Linked DNA regions of Homo sapiens: region 1 is linked to region 2. Evidence: promoter capture Hi-C in human tissues and cell types (Jung and others, 2019). All regions are on one chromosome and are shown on one strand. The core of a region is centred on a gene start or on the middle of the fragment in contact, and the rest is flanking DNA. Distances in the headings are between cores, read along the strand shown. Region 1 holds the start of NBL1 (NBL1, DAN family BMP antagonist). Region 2 overlaps UBR4 (ubiquitin protein ligase E3 component n-recognin 4).

Region 1 (5,453 bases), core at 27-2,526, 440 kb before region 2:
CCTTGTTGACAAATTGCTTCCCCGCCAGCGCCCGGTCTTTGGCCTCCAGCCCTGACCTCTGTTTTCCTGGGGTGCCCCTAGTTACAGGCTGGTGGCGTCCAGCTTGGGGAGCGAGGGCCTCCGAAAGCCTGGAAGTGTGGCTTTCTCCCTTGATGCCCGCCAACCTCCGGCCACGCCAAGGCAGGCGGCTGCCCCCTTTGCCGCCGCTTGTAAACGATCAGAATCGCCCCGCCCTGGGAGCGGGCCGGGCAGGTGGCCCGCAGCAGGGCCTGTCGTCCAGCCGGCCTCGCGGGGGTGGAATTCTTAAGAAAACTGAGCCCCCGGAAAGGCTGGCTCTCCCTGCCCCAGACTCAATTCCAGGGAGATGACCCGGGCCAGGCCTCGGGGCCGGCGGGAGGCAGGGGGAGGGTTTGCCGCACCCGGTCTAGGAAACTATTCGTGAACCCCGCTGGGGGAAGGCGAGCCTCCGACACTGGGGGATTGTCTGGATCGGAGGGCGGGGGATCAGGGAGAGGCGCAGACACAGGGCGAGACCCCCACAGAGGGCAGCGCAGAGACAGAGAGAGGGAGAGAAAAGCCAGAGGCAGAGACACAAACGCGGGCAGCCGAACACGGAGGCAGGCGGGGAACGGAAAGAGACGGGCAGACCAGGGGAAAGTGAGCGGCGGAAACGGAGCGACGGAGAGACAGACACACGGACGTGGGGACCGAAGCAGAGGGGGCCGCGGGAGGCGGAAACGTCCAGAGCCGAGAGGCGCGGCGCGGCGAGGCCCGGGCACGGCCGGGGGACATGCGAGCCCGGCCCGCCCGGCCACGCATCTCCCTCCCTCGCTCCCTCTCTCCCCCGGCCGCGGAAACTCCGATCCAGAAACGGAACCCTGGGGCGAGTCTGGGGACGGGCTCCGGACGCGGCGGTGCCCCCCGGCCACCCCGTGCCGCGCCCACGTCCCCAGCGCCGGCGTCCGGAGGCGCCCGCCAGGTCCCCCAGGGCTCCTGAGCTCGGCGGCGGCGCCTCCACCCGGTGCCCGCGGCCGCCGGACGCGCCGGGGGACGCAGCTCCGGGCTGGGGGCGCGGCACTGCCCCCGCGGCCGAAGCCTCTGGAAGCCGGGCGCCCGCGTGCCGACCCGGGCGGGACTTACCGCGCGCGCCCGCCGGTCCTGCGGAGCTGGGTGCGGGGGTCGCGGGCCCGGGCGCCCCAGGAGGCTCGGCGAGGCGGCCGGCAGGGCGGGGGGCGGCCCCGCGACGCTCGGCTGGGCTGCGCTGCGCGCTGTCTGCGGCCCCGGGCGGGCGCGCGGCGCGGGGGAGCGGCTCCGACGTCAGGGTGGCTCCCTCCAAACAGGGCGCGAGGGCGGGGGCAGCGGGGAGGGCCGCGCGCAGAAAGAGCGGGCGGGCGCGCGCGGCCTCTCCCTCCGGGTGCGCAGGAGGGGGCGCCGCGGCGGCAGGGGCCCCGGGCCCTCTCCTGGCCCGCCCGCCCCGGGCTGAGCTTCGGCGCGCTCCGACGGCGTGGTGGGGCGGCCGGGACGCCTGGCCGGCGCCCGAGAGGCAGGGCAGCCCAGCCGGGCGCCCTGGCCCGTTCTTAAGCGCCCTCCCCGGGTTTCTCTGCGCTTCCACTCTCTCCGCCCGACTTTTACCGAGCCTGGGCCGTCAGGCCGTGCCAGGCCTCGGGGTGACAAAGATGGATGTGTCCTTTTTGTGGGCACCGGGCATTGCAGACTTGCCCCGAGAGTGGGGCGCCCCAGCCCGCCGCGTCCCGGCACCAGGAGTCCCCAGTTCTGCGGTGCACCTCATCCCGTCCGCTCCGGCATGCGACCCGGTTCAAGTCCGTGCTGTTGGTAGCCTGGGTTGCTCAGCCTTGCCTAGTGTTATCCTAGTGTCGCTCTCGGCCCCACGCCCTTGGCTTAAGCATCCCGAAAAGCCCCAGGGACTTATTAGGAACTAAAAAGCCAGCAAATGAACTCACTTCTCTGACTCCTGGGAAGAGTGGAGCTCCTGGCCCCAGCTTCCAGCCTCACCTCGGGGGTTCCTATCTAATCAGTGGGCACTTGGGTGGATTGCGGCCGTACCTTCTCTATTCTGTGTGCTTAACAACGGGGTGAGAAAATAACTTTGCTTCTGGAAAGTGGTGGCCCAGGGACACCACTGGGACACGATTGTAGGACTTGGGGATTTTGCTTTACAGCATAGTTACCTGTGTCCATGTGTTTTACCTAGCTTGGCTGGAAACTTCCAGATAGACACAGCCCTGCTTGTCTGACTCATGAGGTTGCCGGGCATCCTGGGTGGCTCCTAGTGGCCTGCTGGGAACTCCCTGGTGTACTCCAGCCTACTCGCACCCTCCACACCCAGCCTGCATCTGCGCCTCCTAGCTGTTGCCTGCGCCCTTCCCTCTGCCCGGAATTCCCTTCCCCTCCTTTCATCTCTGGCAAACATTCTTCCAGCTCCAGATTGGAAAGCCTTCCCAAGACCCTTTGGGAGCATCTCCCTCCTCCAGTGTGATCCTGGAGCACAGGATGAGAACTTCTGTTCATGTCAATTTCCCTCTAGAATAACTGTGTACATCTCTTGGGCAAACATTCTTCCAGCTCCAGATTGGAAAGCCTTCCCAAGACCCTCTGGGAGCATCTCCCTCCTCCAGTGTGATCCTGGAGCACAGGATGAGAACTTCTGTTCATGTCAATTTCCCTCTAGAATAGCTGTGTACATCTCTTTCCTCCATTAGACCTTGAGGGCAGGAATCGTGTTTATTTCAGTGTCTCCATTGCTTATGGGCAGGCCAGGTGAGATGTACAATGTATTTGGTTGAATGAAGTTGTTGTTGTTGTTGTTGTTGTTGTTATTATTATTATTATTAGAGACAGAATTTTGCTCTTGTTGCCCTGGCTGAAATGCAATGGCGTGATCTCGGCTCACTGCAACCTCTGCCTCCCAGGTTCCAGCAATTCTCAGCCTCCCGAGTAGCTGGGATTACAGACGCCCACCACCACGCCCAGCTAGTTTTTGTATTTTTAGTAGAGATGGGGTTTTGCCATGTTGCCCAGGCTGGTCTCCAACTCCTGGCCTCAAGTGATCCTCCCGCCTCAGCCTCCCAAAGTGTTGGGATTATAGGCATGAACCACCACGCCCAGCGAATAAAGTAATTATTATCCCCCATTAATGTAGCACAGATAGGTCTTCCCTTAATGGTAACTATGACCGTTATAATAGTTCACACATATTGAGCACCTTACCATGTGCCTCATCCCATTGCAAGCTGTTGCCACTCTCACAATAAACCTATGAGGTAAGTATTGTCTCTGTTTTAAAAGTGCCAGGCGCAGTGGCTCATGCTTGTAATCCCAGCACTTTGGGAGGCCAAGGCAGGAGGATCACTTGAGGTCAGGAGTTCGAGACCAGCCTGGCCAATATGGCGAAACCCTCTCTCTACTAAAAATACAAAAATCAGCCAGGTGTGGTGGCGTGTGCCTGTAGTCCCAGCTACTCGGGAGGCTGAGGCAGGAGAATCACTTGAACCTGAGAGGCGGAGGTTGCAGTGAGCCGAGATCGCACCACTGCACTCCAGCCTGGGAGGCAGAGTGAGACTCCATCTCAAATAAATAAATAAATAAACAAACAAACAAATAAAATAATAAAAGTGAAAAAAATCCCGAGGCTGGAGGATCACTTGATCCCAGGAGTTTGAGGCTGCAGTGAGCTATGATTGTGCCACTGTACTCCAGCCTGGACAACATTGCAGAAGGCTAATTGTGGAACCTAATGAGCTTGTCACTCCAGCAAGGCCTTGTCTCAAAAAAAAAAAAAAAAAGTGAAAAAAGGAACGTCAAGAGAAAGGTTAAGTAACTCGCCTAAAGTCACACAGTAAGAGCCCATGCCAGCTAGTGTCTGTTGGATAACTATATACCATGTACGGCAGAAACCAGCCTCACTGCACTGTACACAGTAGACACTCAGGAAATATTTACCATTTTGCAGCCAAAGCTTACCCCCGCCATCTTTCATGCAGACCCCGAGCAGGGTAGAAAGTAGAGTTCTACATTTTGTAAGAATCCACTCCCACATTGCAGAAAGCTAATTGTGGAGCCTGATGAGCTGGTCAGATCACACATAGAGCCAGGAGTAGAAGCCACAACTTCCAGCCAGTGCCCTTGACAGGGCAGCCCACCATCTCTCAAACACCGGGAGGTTCAAGAACAACACCAACCCCCTAATCAGGGACAAAGGGTTTGGAGTTGAGTCACCATCTGTCTGGTGACGGGAAAGCTACAGTGTGGGCAGGGGGCCTGGGAAGTAACTTGGTAGTAATATCTACCCATTTTGTGCCAGGCATTATGCTGGTCACTCTGTCTGCTTCATCTCCTCTAATCCTTACCACAGTCCCATCATTGTTCCCATTTTACAGGTAAGAAAAATCGAGGCACCAAAATGTGTCATTACCTGCTCAAGACCACATTGCTAGTGATTAACAAAGCCTGGACTTGAGCCCAGACCTGTCAACACCAAAGTCCATGCTTCCTTGCCCACCACACCCTCTCCACCCTCTCGGCTGCCTCAGTGCTCCTCCCCATCAGGCTGCAGCAGGGATGCTGCACTGAAGATGGACCCCAGGGGCCCCAGCGGGAAAGGCAGAACCTGTCACGTCAGAGTGTCCCAGCTCGAGCAGATGCACCTGGTTGGCAGTGGTGTTCCAGCTGCCCCTACAGGCCTGGCTGGCACAGGGCATGGGCCTGAGGCCAGAGCCTCCTGGCCCTGGGCCAGCCTCTTGGGGCCGAGGTAATGTGGGGCCCAGAGCTGGGGCTCAGGGCTAAAAGCCCCTCTCCCCAGCTCATTAGCAAACATCTGGGCTCAGGAAAATGACCGACCTGGAATGTGACTGAGCTGTGGGGAGCTGCTCTCTCCCAGAGTCCGGGAATGTGAGCTCCCTCCTGCAGGGCACGGACTCAGCCCAGCTGTTTCCTCTAATCCTGTCAGTCTGGCCTCAACGGGGGTCCAAACCTCTGCACTCTCGCTGGAGAAATAGAATGAAAACAAGCAAAAGGCCTGTCTTCCCAGTCCAGCCCACTGAACAGAGGGTTGGTACACAGTCCCTCTCTTTTTATGATAAAGATGAGAGCGTTCACACCTCCAGGTATGGAGCTGGGAGGAGCCATTCGGACTCATCAGGGGAGGCTCAGGGTTTACATTGTTCCTGCATCGCCCTCTGACTCTGTGCTAGTTGTTTCACACCTGGGCCTTGGTTTCCTTATCTGTAAAATGCAGTTAGTAGTGCTATGTACTCCATAGATTTGTTGTCTGGAGTCATTCATTTATCCAACAAATACTTATTGTGCCTGTTATGTGCCAGACATGCACAGAGGTGTTGAGGACACAACAACAGACTAGACCAATAAGGTCCCAGCCTCCAAGGAGCTTATGTTCTGCCACACCCAGGCAGATTGTGCAACAGATAAACAGATGA
Region 2 (5,238 bases), core at 2,662-5,161:
TTGCTTCCATTTCTTCATTCTTCTCCTTCCTACTTAACTTTTTGTCCTTTGTTCCATTTTTCCATTTCTTATTCTCTGGTGTCTTGGTGTCTTAACATTTTCTCAGGGCATGAGGGTGAGGTTGGAAATTATGGCAGCACATCCCTATTAGCTGACTCATGCACACTGTTTCTTTAAAATCAAGAGATATGACAATGTCCATTACTTCTCTATTTCCTCCTTCAAGTCTTCAAAACCAATTTTTCCCAGGTTTATCCTTAGTTGCCCAGTGCACATTATAAGTAGAGCTGAAGACCGTTCCATTTTTCCTCTGCCAATGTCTATCTTTCCCCAAAATGCATTCTTCCTGTTTCTTTATTGGAATAAGGATGTTACGTATTTCTAGGGGAGGAAGTTGGGTTCATTAGATCACAATAGGATGACACTGAACCAGGCAATTAAATGAGTTTACTCCTATATATATATATATTTTTTTTTATATATTTCATTATCAGAATGGGTATGAAAGCAATAGGCTAAGTCCATCCTTTGGGTGGGCAGTATTTCTCTTAGATTTGGTAAACCTGTTCAGCTGGAAAAAGTGGGGATAAGCAGCTCTGAACTTTGGAAATAAATCAGGAACTTTGGAAATAAACCCAGTAAAATAACATCAAATGACAGAGTGGGAAAGCCTTAGAAAAACAAATAAGAAAGTATAAGGGTGGGGCCAGGCGTGGAGGCTCATGCCTGTAATCCCAGCACTTTGGGAGGCCAAGGCAGTGGATCACGAGGTCAGGAGTTTGAGACCAGCCTGACCAACATGGTGAAACCCCATCTCTACTAAAAAAAAAATACAAAAATTAGCCAGGCGTGGTGGCACGCACCTGTAATCCCAGCTACTCAGGAGGCTGAGGCAGGAGAATCGCTTGAACCTGGGAGGTGGAGGTTGCAGTGAGCTGAGATAGTGCCACTACATTGTAGCCTGGGCGACAGAGCGAGACTCTGTCTCAAAAAAATAAAGTATAAGGCTGGAAGTAAAGGAAAAACTAAGTATATGAGGTAGAAACAGGGGGATTTAGTAGGGAGTTTTCTGCTGTACATGTGAGCCTTAAAACTGTGTTTAGTCACCAGCAACTTTTGAGTGCTGCTTGTTGTGGAAAGGTTTTTATTTTCTCCTTTTTATGTACCCTGACAAATGGAAAAGGACCCTTAGTGGGCAGGAGGATCCTTGCACACATCATAGATGCTCCATAAATATTTTTTTCTTGGTGAAGGAGTTATTCTAAGGGACTAATCTTTGATACATACCCATTTATCCTTGATCTGCATATAGCAAAGTGCTCGCAATGCCAGACTCTCAAGTGTTATTCAAGGTGATTCATCACCGACATTGGCACCTTCCAAATAGTGACTTGTCCTTTTGGCTCCTGTGTTCATTTGGCAGGCAGATAGTCTTGCAGGCAGTGAATGGAGTGTTCACTCTGTTTACATTTCCCTTCTTAGGATGATACTTTTTTTTTTTTTTTGAGTTGGAGTCTTACTCTTTTGCCCAGGCTGGAGTGCAGTGGCACAATCTCAGCTCACTGCAATTCCACCTGCCGGGTTCAAGCAATTCTCGTGCCTCAGCCTCGTGAGTAGCTGGGACTACAGGTGGGTGCCACCACACCTGGCTAATTTTTGTATTTTTATTAGAGACGGGGTTTCACCATATTGGCCAGGCTGGTCTCGAACTCCTGGCCTCAGATAATCCACCAGCCTCTGTCTCCCAAACTGCTGGGATTACAGGCTTGAGCCACCAGCTACAATGCGTCCCACCATAGGTTGATACTTCTGCTGGGGATTGACTCACTAAGTAAACTGTTCAACCACACTGTTGTTCTTTCCATTTAATAAAATATATTTTAGTCTTTGCTTTACCTTCATGTTTCTTTCTTTTTTTTTTTCTCTGAGACGGAGTCTCGCTGTCACCCAGGCTGGAGTGCAGTGGCCCGATCTCGGCTCACTGCAGCCTCTACCTTCTGGGTTCAAGCAATTCTCTACCTCAGCCTTCTGAGTAGCTGGGATTACAGGCGCGTGCCACCACCTGCTAATTTTTGTAATTTTAGTAGAGACAGGGTTTCACCATCTTGGCCAGGCTGGTCTTGAACTCCTGATCTCGTCATCCACCTGCGTGGACCTCCCAAAGTGCTGGAATTGCAGGCATGAGCCACCACACCCGGCCAGCCACCGTGCCCGGCCCATGTTTCATCAATTGTGGATTAGCACCTGATTTGATACAATGACTTTAAATGTATCCAGCCTTTAAACCTAGTTGGTCTCTAGATTTTTTCAGAAGAGGGCATTTCCCCAGCTAAGGATAAGGGATGTGGTTAAAAAAAAAAATCACCGACTCTTTTGTGATCTCGCTTTAGTCTACAGTCAGGGGGATGGTGTAGGGGATAACTCTGTTATCCAGTGAATTTTGGACTTTAGCACTGATCATATGACTTCTTATCTTGAGTTGTTGATTCCTTTTAAGTTACTGCATTACAGGCCAGCCTTATTTGGTCTAAAATTGGTTACTTTAGTCTGTATTCCCACTAACAGTATATTGAGTATTCTGGTCTGCCCCTTTTTGGCTATCAATAATGAAGGCATATTAGCTGTTGGTCTTTGCCAGTCAGTAATATAGAACAGATTGATATCCTGTTAGGTCTTTACTTGCATTTCGTTAGTTCTGCTTGACTTTGAAAATGTTTTCTGTTTGTTAGTCTCTGCTTCTTCCCTAGCCTGATGACCTTGAATGAGATATTTAATTTTAATTCTCTAAGCTTCACCTTCCCAATCTTTTTTTGAGATGAAGTCTTGCTCTATCACCCAGGCTGGAGTGCAGTGGTTCAATATCGGCTCACTGCAACCTCTGCCTCCCAGGTTCAAGCAATTCTCCTGCCTCAGCCTCCTGAGGAGCTGAGACTATAGGCACGTGCCACCACGCCCAGCTGATTTTTGTATTTTTAGTGGTGACGGGTTTTCACCATACTGGCCAAGCTGGTCTTGAACTCCTGACCTCAGGTGATCCACCTGTCTCATCTTTCCCAGTCTTGAAGGGGAATAGGTTGATGATACTATCTACCAGGTAGTAAGGATTAAATAATGTAATATCCATAAAGGGGTATCTGGCACATAGTAAGCGCTAAGCAGATGCTGGCTGAATTATTATTATTTTTACAGTGAATCAGAAATCCTGCACCATGAGAAGCAGTACGAGCCATTCTACTCATCTTTTGTTGCACTTTCCACACACTATATTACAACAGTTTGCAGTCTCAGTAAGTATTCCACTCTTGTCCTTCCCTTCTGAGGGCTTGTGAATAGGGGGATTGTTTATCCTCTCGTTAGTGTATCTGAAAAAGTTGTTAATGAAGTCTAGGTTTTAGCACTCCTAAGCTGCTCACCCAAGAGTAGAGACAACTGTCAGCTAGGATGAGGCTCCAGAGGTTCCCTTACCTAGGCTAACCAAGTGGAATTTTAAAACTACTTGGCTTGGACACCTGCTTTATAAGTATTAAGTCCACCTCCTTTCCCTTCTTAATCCAAAGCATTTTATTGATTTCTCATGTAATTACTGGTGTGTTAATTTCCCTGGGGGGAAGGCGGTGGTGGATACTGACCTCTGGAGTTAGCAGCCACTCAAGGCTCTATTCCTTATTTGGTTTTGGTGAGGATGTGGATTCTCCTTTGTGTTCTCTGGTATATGAAGGGATTTCAACTTCAGTTCTCCATTTTCTTCATTTTTCTACCCCCAAAATGGCTAATCCCTATTTTACATTTCTGAATTTTTACATTTGTCTAAAATCTTGACTCAAATAGTTCTGAAGAATTCTAATTATTTTAAATTTGCTTTTTTAGAGACAGGGTCTTGCTCTGTCATCCAGGCTGGAGTGCAGTGGCGTGATCATAGCTCACTGCATCCTTGAACTCCTGGGCTCTAGTGATTCTCCTGCCTTAGCCTCCTCAGTCCTAGCTGGGACTACAGGCACAAGCCACCAAGCCCAATTAATATTTTATAGTGACAGGGTCTCTCTATGTTGCCCAGGCTGGTCTGGAAGTCCTGGGCTCAAGCAGTCCTCCCAGCTTAGCCTCCCAAAGTGCTGGGATTACAGGCAGGAGTCCCCATATTTGTTTATTTGAACAGTTTGCTAAGCAAGTAAACTGAAAGGACATTGAAGAATTAGTGTATTTTTTGTGTGGCCCAAGACAGTTCTTCCAGTTGCTGAGGAATCCTTCAGTGTCCAATACTGTTTATTATAAGCTCTGGCTACTGGCAGAAGAATCAGTTTTAGCTTGGAGAAACTTTATGTAAGGAAGTCATTTTATTTTTTTAAGTTATACTTAAAATTTTTATCCATTTATTTATTTATTTTGAGATCGGGTTATGAGACTAATTTTTGTATTTTTGGTAGAGATGGGGTTTGACCATGCTGGCCCAAGCTGGTCTCAAACTCCTGGGCTGAAGTGATCCACCCGCCTCAGCCTCCCGAAGTGATCCACCCACCTCAGCCTCCCGAAGTGCTGGGATTATAGGTGTGAGCCACTATGCCTGACCAGGACGTCATTTTAGAATCCATGGGAATACTACTACAATAGTAGTATTGTCTAGTGCAAGCTTGTCCAACCCACAGCCTGAGGACCATGTGATGGCTTTGAATTTGGCCCAACACAAATTCATAAACTTTCTTAAAACATTATGAGATTTTTTTTTTTGCCTTTTTTTTTTTAAAGCTCATCAGCTATTGTTACTGTTAGTGTATTTTTTGTGTGACCTAAGACAATTCTTCCAGTGTAGCCCAGGGAAGCCAAAAGATTGCACACTCCTGGTTTAGTGGTTAAGAGCATGAACTCTAGAGGCTGACTGCCTGGATTTAAACCTAGCTATGTGACTTTTGTCAAGTCATTTAGTTAGCTCAGCTGTTAAAAATGGACAGGGATAATATGAATATCTGCCTCATAGAATTGGTTTAAGAATTAAATGAGTTAATACCTTTGAAGTGCTTGGCACTGGTGTGATGTAAGTATTTCCTATTATAGTTATCCTGATTTCTAGTAAATATGAGATAAATTGATCTGGTAGTTATTGATGTCAAAATGCCTTTGTTTACCCCTTGGGTTTTTGGCTCTGAATAATTGTTACGATATTGGGAATGTTGGACATAGAGCTCAATACTTACTTTGCTTAATTTATTGACCAACGCTGAGCAGTCTGAAATTGAGTAATGTTTA

The links. Contacts are between HindIII fragments. The study calls those that stand out against the background at their distance.
Region 1: a contact is called between the fragment with the promoter of NBL1 here and a fragment that was not itself captured in region 2, in 1 of the 25 tissues and cell types used here (mesenchymal stem cells).

The regions. Positions count from the first base shown.
Region 1 is chr1:19,640,134-19,645,586 of GRCh38, reverse strand. NBL1 (NBL1, DAN family BMP antagonist) reads right to left here and starts at 1,276. Exons shown (of 4, transcript NM_005380.8): 1 at 1,141-1,276. The region is part of intron 1 of MICOS10-NBL1 (MICOS10-NBL1 readthrough); the gene reads right to left. RefSeq lists a silencer at 1,191-1,530 and an enhancer at 1,429-2,264. The HindIII fragment of the contact is 7,978 bases long and covers 297-5,453 here.
Region 2 is chr1:19,199,767-19,205,004 of GRCh38, reverse strand. It overlaps UBR4 (ubiquitin protein ligase E3 component n-recognin 4), which reads left to right. Exons shown (of 106, transcript NM_020765.3): 2 at 3,190-3,287. Among named protein-coding and RNA genes, the nearest start is that of UBR4, 7.9 kb to the left of the region's middle. RefSeq lists an enhancer at 2,167-2,668. The HindIII fragment of the contact is 5,188 bases long and covers 1,318-5,238 here.